Regions from separate parts of the Homo sapiens genome. Here region 1 is linked to region 2. Evidence: promoter capture Hi-C in 16 types of primary human blood cells and fetal thymus (Javierre and others, 2016). All regions are on one chromosome and are shown on one strand. Each heading gives the region's core, a stretch centred on a gene start or on the middle of the fragment in contact. The rest is flanking DNA. Distances are from core to core; before and after follow the strand shown. Region 1 has its middle 550 kb from the start of LINC02510. Region 2 holds the start of PCDH10 (protocadherin 10).

Region 1 (6,045 bases), core at 1,999-4,498, 3.5 Mb before region 2:
AATTTCGGACTAGGTCTAAGAATTAAATTGACAAAAGGCAGATTAACAGGAGAAAAGTATGGAGAAAAGTATACACATTTATTTAATAAAAATTTTACATGACACAAAAGCTTCATATTGAAGTGGAAGATCCCAAATAGCAGTTAGAATCAAACATTTATATACTGAATTGGACAAACAGTTATACACTGTGAAAACATGACAAGGCAAGGGGGCTTGGGCAGGGTAATTAATCATGGAGAAGTGACTAAGAAGATAAAAGTGAGTTAACAAGGTTTGTTTGTACAGACTTATCTCAGTCTCAACTAGCCATCCCTGGTGATAAGAATGTTACTTCCCTCCTGGCATACAAAGGACATCTTCCTTAGAGGGATTTATTTACTGTTTTCAGGAAGAAAAGGGGGAGGTTGGAGTCCCTTTCTTGTACCTGGTGTTTTTCAAGTATCTTTAGCTCAAAAAAATTCTTATATTATGGTGTCATATTTTGGGGTGGCATATTCTGCTACTCTTTAGGATATTGTTATTTTGAGGGACTTACTAGAATATTAATGTGGAAGTGTAAACGCATATAGTTTAAAAAATTCTGTTGGTAAATGTCGAGTCAATATGTTATTCTGGAAAACCAAATTTTTAAACTTCAACAGATGATAAATGCATAGTTTTTAATATATATAGGAATTGCTTAAAGGAATAAAATTTGTTAATGATTGCAACAAAGTAGGCAGAGTGTAAATGTCTTTTTATTACAGAAATGCCACTCTTACAGGTAGTACTCAGCCAAGAAGACATTTCTAAAAGTCAAGAAAATCTACACAATCCATCCCATAGGAATAATACATAAAAACAGGCGTATTTTAACAGACACCTTTTCAGAAAAATTTATTTTCTAAAATATCATGAATCTGCAGAGAGGCATCACTCTGAAGCTGAAATAGCTAAAGCTCTAGAAATGCATACTTTAAAGGATACAATTTGAACAGTTTCAAATAGAAAATGTGAGAATGCAATACTAGAGTTCTTTGACTATATCAGTAAGATGCTTTAAGTTTAAAGTGTAAAAACCTCACTCAGGTGAGGTAGAAAAATACATCTAGTCACTTATAAAGAGGATTCACAAGTGATTCATGAAGCCAAGAGCAAGACAAGGGGAGCCTCATCTCAAGAGCCACTAGAGCTTCAGGGCATCTGACTCATTATTACCTTCCTATTTTCACAGACAACTTTTCCTTTTTCTCTATCACGAAATAATAGCTGTCTATCATTTCAGAATTTCATCACGCAGAGAGGCTGGTCCTTTCTCTGTCCTAATTACAAATTATTAGAAGAGAGGATATGATCAGCCCTACTTCAGTCAAGTACCCATTCAATTAGATTAGGAAGAGTGTAGTACAAACCTAACTGCCAGATGCTCATCCATGCATTGTGTCTGGCTCATTCACAGAGAAAGGTGTTCAACAAACCACACATTTACCAAAAGAACATGGAAGGCTGGTGAAGACTTAAGTAGGAAATAAGCTTGCAATGTAAACAGAAATCTAAAAGCAGATGATGTAGAAGAAGTCTTAAGACAGTAGAAAAACTCAGCCCATAACAAAAAGAATATATGATCCTGGCTGTTCTTGTGTGAGAGATTTGTCAGTAATCGAATGAGAAACATTTGGCGCTAAAACTTACAACTACATTGTAATTTTGCCTATATATTATTTTCAGATTGAAAAGATATATATGCATATATATATATATAAACTTTATACCGTGTGTGTTGGTTATATGCATAATGTATGCCTGTTTACGTATCTATCATTTCCACATTTATACATATGAAAATATAGACATATGTAAATCAAATTATCTCCTTTAGGACTAATCTAATTGTCATGTTAAAAATATGAGTTAACTGCAGCTTCTTAGATAAATATTTAAATCTAGAGGAACTAATCAATTTAAGAAATCAAAATCTTGGCGCCCAGAGTTTGGGGCAGACAAGAAAAGCAACACTATCTGCAATAATAGGGCCTAACAGGTCCGGTTTCACTAGAGAATGACTAATGCATATGATTTACATTTCCTTTATCAGGTAGCTCTTGGTTCTCATGAATAGCATTTCCACAAATATAAAGATTTTGGATAGAGTGAACATTCTCTGAATTCTTATTCCTTGCGAACCAGAAAATTACACCAGATTTCTCAGTAATTGATGCTGTCACATAGTATTTTCCTCTCATTTCACTAATTTTTTAAACGTGTCTGTCTTCAATGAGTACAAAATGGAGAGATAAAAAAGAACAAAATTAGCTTTATTATTTGATTAGACAATAGTCTGGTAAGATGCTTGCTATGGTTTGAATATTCCCTCCAAAATTCATGTTAAAACTTACTTTTCATTTTGATACTTTTAAAAAGTGGGAACATAAACAGGTGATTAGGCAACAAGGACTCCTCTCTTCTAAATAGATTAATCATGTCATTGAGGGAATGGGTTTATTGTCGAGACAGTGGGTTGTTACAAAAGTGAGTGTGGCCCTCTCATGCTCTTTCGCTCTCTCTTTCTTTTGTCCTTTCACCCTTTGCCGTGGAATAGCACAGCATGAAGGCTCTTGCCAGATGCTAGTGCCACGTACTTGGACTTCTCAGCTCCAGAATTGTGAACCAAATCAACTTCTTTTCTTTATAAATTATCCAGTCTGTGATATTTCCGGTGCTTAATCAATGATATCCTGAACTTAAGATTTATTAAAATACAGCTTAGAATATACCAGTTAAAATAAATGATCCAGGAAATACGATTTTATTTTTAGTATGTTTAAATACTATTCTGTTACTCTTAGAAAACATAAGTATTTGTTAAATTTTACTTAAAAATGGGCAACTGTGATATATATGATTAATTTTTACTTTATAATATAGATAATATTAATGTAAGTTTGTATTGATGGTAGTACAACATATTAAGCTTTTGTATCTCCAAGTATTATCTGTGGATATAGTACTGTTCCCTGTAGCTTATATATTTCCATAAAGTGAACTGGGCACCAAAATAAGAGCAATTAACATTTGAGAAGCAAAAGGGCTCTCATTTGGTTAAAAAATAAATTGTCATTTTGAATTGAATCTGCATATTAATAGCTTTCATTATTATCATCTTTCAGGCTTTATGTACTATTCATTTCCAACTGCCTACATTCTTTTTATGATCTAAAAAATGCAAAACTACTTTTGAGATTCTGTATGTGTCTGATTGCTTTGAAAACCATGAGAGATTCTTTAAAATGTAAAGCATGAATCATTAAAGGGTTTATTTTGCATCTTGTGTATTCAAAAGGTTTGGAATTCATTTTCAAATGTTGCAAAGCACACTAGTATCTCATGGGTTTTTATTCTACAAACTCACATTCTCAATGAATGATTTCTCACTCACAATACTCTACCTGAGCATGAGGCGTACAAGATAGGAGATGAGGCAAATTCCCCTTGAGCATAACTTTAAATCACATTGAGGAAGATGCCAATATTTATGTTTAAAAAACTAAGTCAGAAGCTTATATATCTACTTTAATAGAAGAAACATTAACTTAGCACCTCTTCTGGTATAAAGTTTTACCTGAATTTTCTCCGTACTGTTGTAAATCTTGAAACTACTGACAGACTAATACACAATAACTTCTAAAATTAATACTTGTGCTTTGGATTATGAGTTTCTAGAAGCCAGAATTATTTGTTGTGTATTATTATATTACAAGGACCAAACAGAGTGTTAAGGCACATACTCTGCATCCAATATTTTTGTTGTATTGAGCAAAGGAAGCGGGCATTTAGAAATAATGCCTTGTTTGAGTCATAGTGTCAGAGGCATGTGAACTAGAACAACTCCATCTTGAATAGGAGCTGGGTAAAATGAGGCTGAAACCTACTAGGCTGCATTCCTAGATGGTTAAGGCATTCTAAGTCACAGGCTGAGATAGGAGGTCAGCACAAGATACAGGTCATAAAGACCTTGTTGATAAAACAGGTTGCAGTAAAGAAGCCAGCCAAAACCCAACAAAAGCAAGATGGCCACGAGAGTGACCTCTGGTTGTTCTCACTGCTACACTCCTACCAGCACTGTTGAAACCGGAAAAGCTTCCTTGTCTTTCTCACAGGGTGTGCAATGGGGGTATAACTCACTTCTTCAGTGCCCTGCTGCTCAAACCTCTAGGGGAGCATACAGATGGGCAGGCTGTGGGGCTCCGACCCCATGGCAGTGTCTAGGGGTGAATGTTTACAGCTGAAGCCCCAGTGGGCCTGTGTTACAGGGTGCTTTTTAGTTTAGCCAACCATAGGCGGTTTATGTTAACCAGCTCAATTAGACCGTCTACCTTGTAACAAGGACAGGGGGCTTTCTGTATCCCAGGGTCTTGCCTTGGTGTCCTGGAAGAATGGGATAACACCTGGGCTTGGAGAATGAGTGCAAGGTTTTATTGAGTGGAGGTAGCGCTCAGCAGATTGGGGGAAACCAAAAGGGGGATGGAGTGGGAAGGTTTTCCCCAGGAGTCAGGCTGCTTAGTGGCCCAGGCTTTCCTCCGACTGCCCCAGCCAGACTCCACAGTGTTTTGCTGGTCGGTGGCCTGCCCTGTGCTGGTGCCTGTAGGTGTGCTGCTCTCAACATCCAGCCGTCTGTGTGTTCCTCCGCTGACGAGCTCTGGAAGTTCAGCCGCCTGTGTCTGCCTGCTATGGTCTTGAGGTATTTTATAGGCACAGGATTGGGGTGTGGCCTTGGGAAATGCAACATTTGGGCAGGAAAACAAAAATGCCTGTCCTCACTTAGGTCAGTGGGCACACGCCTGGGGGTGGAGCCCTAGCCAGGGACCACAGCCTCCTCTACCCAGCACTTCCCTTCCTGCTTCCGTATCATTTAAAGTGACTATGCCCTTCCCAGCACTTCCTTTCTGTATCATTTCCCCCCTCTGAAGACGTACATCTAACTGCCATTAGAATATGGATGATGACTGGTCTTAGCTGCTTCCTGCTGACAGGGAGCATTTTTTTTTGGGAAAACAGCAGTTAGATTCCCCCAGAGGTCTATCTAAGGGTTCCTAGCAAAAAGGAGCCAACGCCTGAGGCTCTGGTTGCCTGACCATTTGGAGTTTGATGGCTTCTATGCGCAAGAGAAAAAAACGAGGTTTTTAAGGTTAAGTATGCATGGGTTAAACCTGTGTATTATACAAGGAAAGAATTCAGTGTCAAAGATTTCAGAGACCGGAAGTAAAATATACTGACGACAACATTGTACCCTGAGCTGTTTCATCCTAGTGAAATAAATTAAACCTTGTATGGGAGCAGATCAACTTTTAGAAGAGTGATAACTGTTCTTGCCATATCTTTGTGCACTCTGGGAACTCTGGGGTTTGCAGGCTTGCATAGTGACAATTAAAGCTTTTGCCTCTTTCCTGTACTTCCTCTTTCTTAGACCTCCCTGTCTTTATTATAAAAGACCGAGGTAGCCACTTTCAGGAGGTCCTCTAATGTACTATGTGGTCCCAGGGCCCATTTCTGCAACCTCCACCTGATATGAGGAGCTGCCTGAGTAATAAATTTATCCTTTAGGATTAGCTGTTTCTTGACTGAATCAGGAGATAGAGAAGTGTGCTTTACCAAGGTCTCTCTTAGCCTTTCGAGGAAGGCAGTGGGATTTTCACCAAATCCCTGGTTGAGCATGAACAACTTAATATAATTCAGAGGCTTGGTCTTAGTTCTACATAAGCCTTCCATTATGCACACCCCAAAATGTCTCTTTTTCCAATCTTCCATCTCATCACTGGGATCCCATTTAGGGTCATTCACCGGTATTGCTTCTCTTCCAGTTGGAAAATATTCGCCCCCTTCCCTGATGCTACCTGTGATGCAAAGCTCATCCCCAAATGTCTCTGCTGCTTGCAGAATGGCCTGTTTCTCAGTGTCCATCAGGGTCTCATCTAAAATTAACATAACATTTCTCCAGGAGAGTTCAAAAATTTGTGTGAAGTTCTGGAAAACCTCTATATATCTATCAGGGTCATCTGAAAACTT
Region 2 (5,398 bases), core at 442-2,941:
TCTGGCCCTCGTCCGGGTCGGTGGCGTTGAGCTGGATCACGAGAGTGCCTGGGGGAGAGTTCTCTGGTAGGGACACAGTGTAGACGGGTTGGTCGAAAGCGGGCACATTGTCATTGGAGTCCAGCACTCGGATGGTGAGTAGGGCCGTGCCGGTGCGCTGCTGCTGGGGGGGCAGGCCTGCTCCCCCGCCACCTCCCCCTCCTTCTCCTACTCCTCCCCCACCTCCTCCGTCCACCGCGGTCAGCACGTAGCGGTGCACCGCTTGCTGCTCTCGGTCCAGTGGCTTCTCCAGCACCAGCTCAGCGAATCGGTTGCCATCCCCCTGGGTCTGCACGTCCAGGGAGAAGTAGCTGTTGGGGGTGATCTCGTAGTCGCGCAAGGAGTTGGTGCCCACGTCTGGGTCGAATGCGCTCTCCAAGGGGAAGCGAGTGCCTGGCGTGGCGCTCTCAGAGATTTCCACCGTCAGGTCTGGCTCCGGGAAAGAGGGGGGGTTGTCATTAATGTCCAGCACCTCGATCTCCACCTGGAACAGCTCCAGGGGGTTCTCCAGAAAGACCTCCAGGTGCAGGACACAGGAGGGGCTCTGTTTGCAGATTTGTTCGCGGTCTATTTTCTCGTTCACGTACAGCACCCCTGTCTCCAGGTTGAGGTCTAAGTAAGGGGTCCTTGAGTTGGGCACCGTCTGAAACCCGCGAGCCGAAAGTTTTGTAATGTCCAGACCCAGATCTTCAGCGATATTCCCCACGAAAGTGCCATGTTCCTGCTCCTCCTGTACCGTGTAGTGAAGCTGGGAAAAGACTCCTTCCACCATCCAGAGCAAGGCAAACAATAATAGCACAATCATCTCCAAAAGGAAAGGAAGTAGCTTCCCGCAGCCAGTCAGCCACCCAATCACCTCCCCCACCACCACGAAACAAAAAAAAATCTGAAAAAATACAAATAAAAGTGCGCTACGTGGGGGCTCCTGTGGCTTTCTGTCTTTAAAAATCTTACTCCTTTTGCTTCATTTTAGAGCTTCCCGCAATCCAGCCTCATTTTTTTTTAAATCTTAGCACAGGAAGGGTGACAGGCGTCCCCTTTCCTCATCTGTAATCTTTCCACTGACTAATTAATAAAATAACAATAATACAATAGTCAGCGTCCTTTATTCCGACAGTCTTGGCGCTGGCAAATCCCAAAGAGGAAATTTCGATATTTCAAGACTGTCCTCGGTTTGTCTTCTTGCTGATGGGAGGAGAACGAGGAGGAGGAAAAAGAGGAGGAGGAGGAGGAAGAAGAAGAAGAGGAAGAGGAGAAGGAAAAGGAGATGCTGTTGGCACCGTTAAACATGCCTCTTAATGTCAACGGCTGGCAAATGCAAAAGGGCTTAAAATCAGCGATATAATTTTGTGCCGGAAAAGCACAGAACGGCTCTGCAGCTTAAAACTTTCATTCTCTTCATTTCTCCGGATGGATGTTCTTCTTGACATTTTTTTCCTCTTTCGCTCTATTTGTATTTTTTGTCTTTCAGAGTCTTGGTTCCCTCTGTCCTCATCTCCACCGTTACTTGCCTCTCTGTAAGTGTAATGAGCAGTTTCTTTTCTGCTGTTTTCTTCCCAAGCCTCTTTCCCTCTAACCTGTCTCTTTTTCCTTCCAGTCCTTCCTTCCTCCTGCTTCAGCCTCTGAGCCTGTGGTCTGGGCTGGCAGTTTCTGAGCTCCGAGCGCTCGGCTTCTCCGTTTTTGCGCAGCGCCCTCATTCTGCCAACCAATCGCCCAGGAGCACCACCCACCGAGCTGCCGATGATTGGCCAAACTGGCCGCCAAACAGACACGTCACGCGGCAGCCGGGCGGGGCGGGACAGAACTCTCGCCCGAGCGGCCGGGGTGAGTGTGAGTGTGAGAGCGAGAACAGCCCCGCAGGTCCCGAGGCGCTGGCTGGGGACAATGCCGCGGAAAGTTCCCAGTCCCCAGCCGCAGGTAATGGGGAGGGAATAGAGAGGTTCCCCTGTTTGCATCAGCAAATGCGAAAACATAATAGCAACAGCTGCGATATCCTCTCCTAGGAGCGGGATTTCCAATGATGCTAACATTCTTTTTCCTTTAAGGTATTTTCCCTAATACGCATCATGGAAATAAATCATCGAGAAGGGAAAAAGTAGCGCAGGGCCCACTAATTGGCAAGGGTTACCTAATTAAGGGACCCTAGCAGAGACTGGCAGGGCATTTTAAAAGTGAGTATTATATGGCATGTGTCAATCTAAAGGTGAGGGGGTCTGACGGGGCCGTGAGGAAAGGCGCGAAGCATACGGAGTAGGGGGTGGAGGTGACTCCTAAAAAGCGGAGGAATTCACGCTAAAGGATGTGGGGATGACAGCGCTTACAGACGGGCAGACGCGTTCGACGTGCTTCTTTCCTCCCAAAATACATATTCACAAAATACTTACCAAGTAGATTAACTCACTCGAGGACCTAGCTTCGAGCCGTGAGCGCGTTCATCAGTGACTGAGGAGTTGATTTGAGCCGCTTCCTACAAGCCCGCCATCCTAACGCCGGGCTCTGGGGCATCCGGCACACAGCACCGCCAAGCGCTGCAAAGCGCCTCTGATATCCCTGCGCCTTGTGCGGCCAAGTGCCACGCAGCGGCTGGGAACACCGGCTATTTTCTATTTTTTTTTTGGCAATTGGAGATCGATCCCTTTACCCACCATGCTAGATTAGACCACTGATTTCTGCCAATCCTGGGGTCAGCCCGCGGGATGAGGACAGTGGGGCGGCGGCGAACGCGGGCGGGGTGGTGGGCAGGGCCCGTGCACACGAGGGGCCCGAGTGTGCACCGCTGCGGGTATCTGCGAACACGTTTGCACATGCACGGTACTTGCATCCATCCTCCCTGGCCCAGGGCTTAGCTCTGTGTAAGCCCCAACGGAGCCTCCCCGAGTTCCGAAGGACGCGCTTGACCAGCTGTGAGTGCCCCTTCCGGAGGCGCAGGGGCAACGCGGCACATCCACATAGCTAGTTCTTGTGAAGTTAAAACACAGCGCGAACTCTTTAATGCTGGAGAGTGGATAGAATGCCAGTTCTCTAAGGAAAGATCTATAAATATATATTTTTAATTAATGGGCCACTAGCAAGGAATTGGTTGTTTATTCACGAAAGAAGCCCCTATTCAATCTCCTTTTTATGCAAAGAGATAGGAAGGTCCTTTGCTGCTTTCTGGTAATGAATGACCCAAGAATACACCACCACAACCTGCGGGAAAAGTAGAGTCGTTTTCCGACCTGGAGATACGTTGCCATTTCCTCCTGGCAAGGAGTTAAGGAGGGCTAGTGTCCATGGGCGTGATAGTAGCCTGAGACGTGCTTCTGAGAGTCCCGCGAATGCACGTCTACTGCCCTGATTTCCGCGCCCCAACTCCCCGCAACGCCGGGTCCCCCCGGCCCCCGCACTTGGCTCTTTCATGAAGATGGGTCCTGCCTTTGAGCGCTTAGAAGGAAAGGATTCCAGCAAAAATGGCTAATCCTTTTCCAGCTGCAGTAAATTGAAGACTGGCCAAAGCCAAGCGAAAACCGCTGCAGTTAAAATGATTTTAGCATCACGTCTGCGGCTGAGAATGGAGCGGCAGTGTATAAAGGGACCTGTGGATCAATGAAAAGGAGATTATAGTGTATCTGAATATTAATACGGTATTGCATCTGTACTTCCACCCCTCCCCCCTTTCTTTTTCTTCAGATCTGCAGAATTGAAATGAAATGTTTTGAGCTCTTCAAGCTGACTCGTCAGAATCCTGGAGCCTTTTAAAAAATGACGGTAATTTTCTAATGCGTTCATTTGTACGTATGGAAACACTTGTGTGTGTGCGCGCGAGTGCGCGCGTGTTTGCATGTGGGAGACATGCAGCTGAATGACAATGCAGATCCAGAAACTGGGGAAGAGGGTTTCTACCCCTGAAATGTAGATGAAGTTTGAGCTGACTTGGGGCATATGCTGAAAGCCAGAGAGCTTCCAGAGGTGGAGATGAGATGGCCAGATTTGCCTGTAAATAATCACTACATCCACTGTAACACTTGAGCTGCTTTTATTTTTTTTTATTTTTTATTTTTATTTTTGGTAGCAGATGTGTTTGAATGGAACTCTCTCCGCAAACGTGGGTTACAGGCGTCTCCTAGCGGCGAAATCAGCATAGGGCAGGCCAGAGAATTTTGCTTTGGAGAGCTCGCCTTTTGGGGGCTCTACAAGATTTCTTGGGTCATAGGGGTCTGTGTCCGCACCAGCGTCGCTGAGCCCAGGCCCCCTAGAGGTCTCGCCTCTCCGACTTCTAGTCTTTGTGGCGCCAGCCAGGGACCGGCGGAGTGACGGTAGGGTCTTCTTCCCGGCCGAACAGAACAGAGCCTGGTCCTCCGCCTCCCGCTAGATAGCTCCAGCCAAGGGCAATTCCAAGAGCATTTTGTTTGGAGCCAAGATCAGATAGTGGCATTAATAGCCTTCTATGCCCCTTTACCCTAGAGCCTTTAAAACAACCATGCCCCGTCACCCACAAAACAAAACAACACTTTAAATTTGCCTTTTAAAATGCCTCTAAAATGTAACAGGTTTACTTTTTCCCTTGCTGTGTCAATCAAACAGATCCCTGCCTTTCGTTTTTCTTTTTCATTCTTACTCCCGTGGACCCCAGAATTTAGTGAGATGAGGTTTGTATATACGGCAGCCTCAGTAATGAGGCTGACTACCTCTTTGAAGTGTAGAGCATCATGTATATTCTGTGTTCCTCAATCCCCCCGTTACTGGAGCGGAAAAGGAGAAGGAAATATTTTGTACGTAATCCCTTCTTCACCCTCCCCCGTCCACCCCCTAGGAGCGCAAACTGTTTGAGCCAGGACAAACTGCACCCTAAGAAACAGAGGAATAGTTTTATTATTTGGAGGGAGGTTATCAAAATCAGTTTTCATAAAAGTCCTGGTTTATATATTAGAGTGATAGTGCACATTTTTTATTTCATTGGGCTTTAAGTGCAGCAGAAACAGGGGGGCGCTAAGGATCCCACAAGTGTGTTTTACAAACTTTGAAACTGGGTTAAGGGATTGCTTTCTTCTCTGCCCTTTGCTGCAAAGGGTGGGGCAGAAACAAGTTTGTTAACCAGCCTTTGGATAAATGAGTGTTTGCAGTGATTTAACATGACTTGAAAGCAATTTGTTTCTAAATCCTCTTATTATTGCTATGTGCCCAGAGCTTTGAGGGAAGTTTTTTTTTTTTTTTTTTTTAGAATTGGAAGGAAAAATTACTTTATCAATAACCAGGCTCCACCAGGATTGACCTAGATGGTTGTTCCTGGCACTTGTCATTCTCAGCAAGCACAGCTCAGAGAACAAATACAAAAGACCCAAAGTGCATTGCATCTTTTATGGGTAAGCATGAAATAGGT

Evidence for each region. Contacts are between HindIII fragments. The CHiCAGO score rates a contact against its expected background, and 5 or more counts as called.
Region 1: a contact is called between a fragment that was not itself captured here and the fragment with the promoter of PCDH10 in region 2, in 3 of 17 cell types (M2 macrophages, M1 macrophages and fetal thymus). The highest score is 14.1, in M2 macrophages.

Annotation. Positions count from the first base shown.
Region 1 is chr4:136,638,739-136,644,783 of GRCh38, reverse strand. No RefSeq gene overlaps it. Among named protein-coding and RNA genes, the nearest start is that of LINC02510, 550 kb to the left of the region's middle. The HindIII fragment of the contact is 585 bases long and covers 2,956-3,540 here.
Region 2 is chr4:133,145,587-133,150,984 of GRCh38, reverse strand. It overlaps PCDH10 (protocadherin 10), which reads right to left and starts at 1,691. Exons shown (of 5, transcript NM_032961.3): 1 at 1-1,691. The coding sequence starts at 844. PCDH10-DT (PCDH10 divergent transcript) reads left to right here and starts at 1,869. Exons shown (of 9, transcript NR_125885.1): 1 at 1,869-1,956; 2 at 3,709-3,786; 3 at 5,240-5,381. RefSeq lists a silencer at 1,638-1,777 and an enhancer at 1,888-1,947. The HindIII fragment of the contact is 9,721 bases long and covers 1-5,398 here.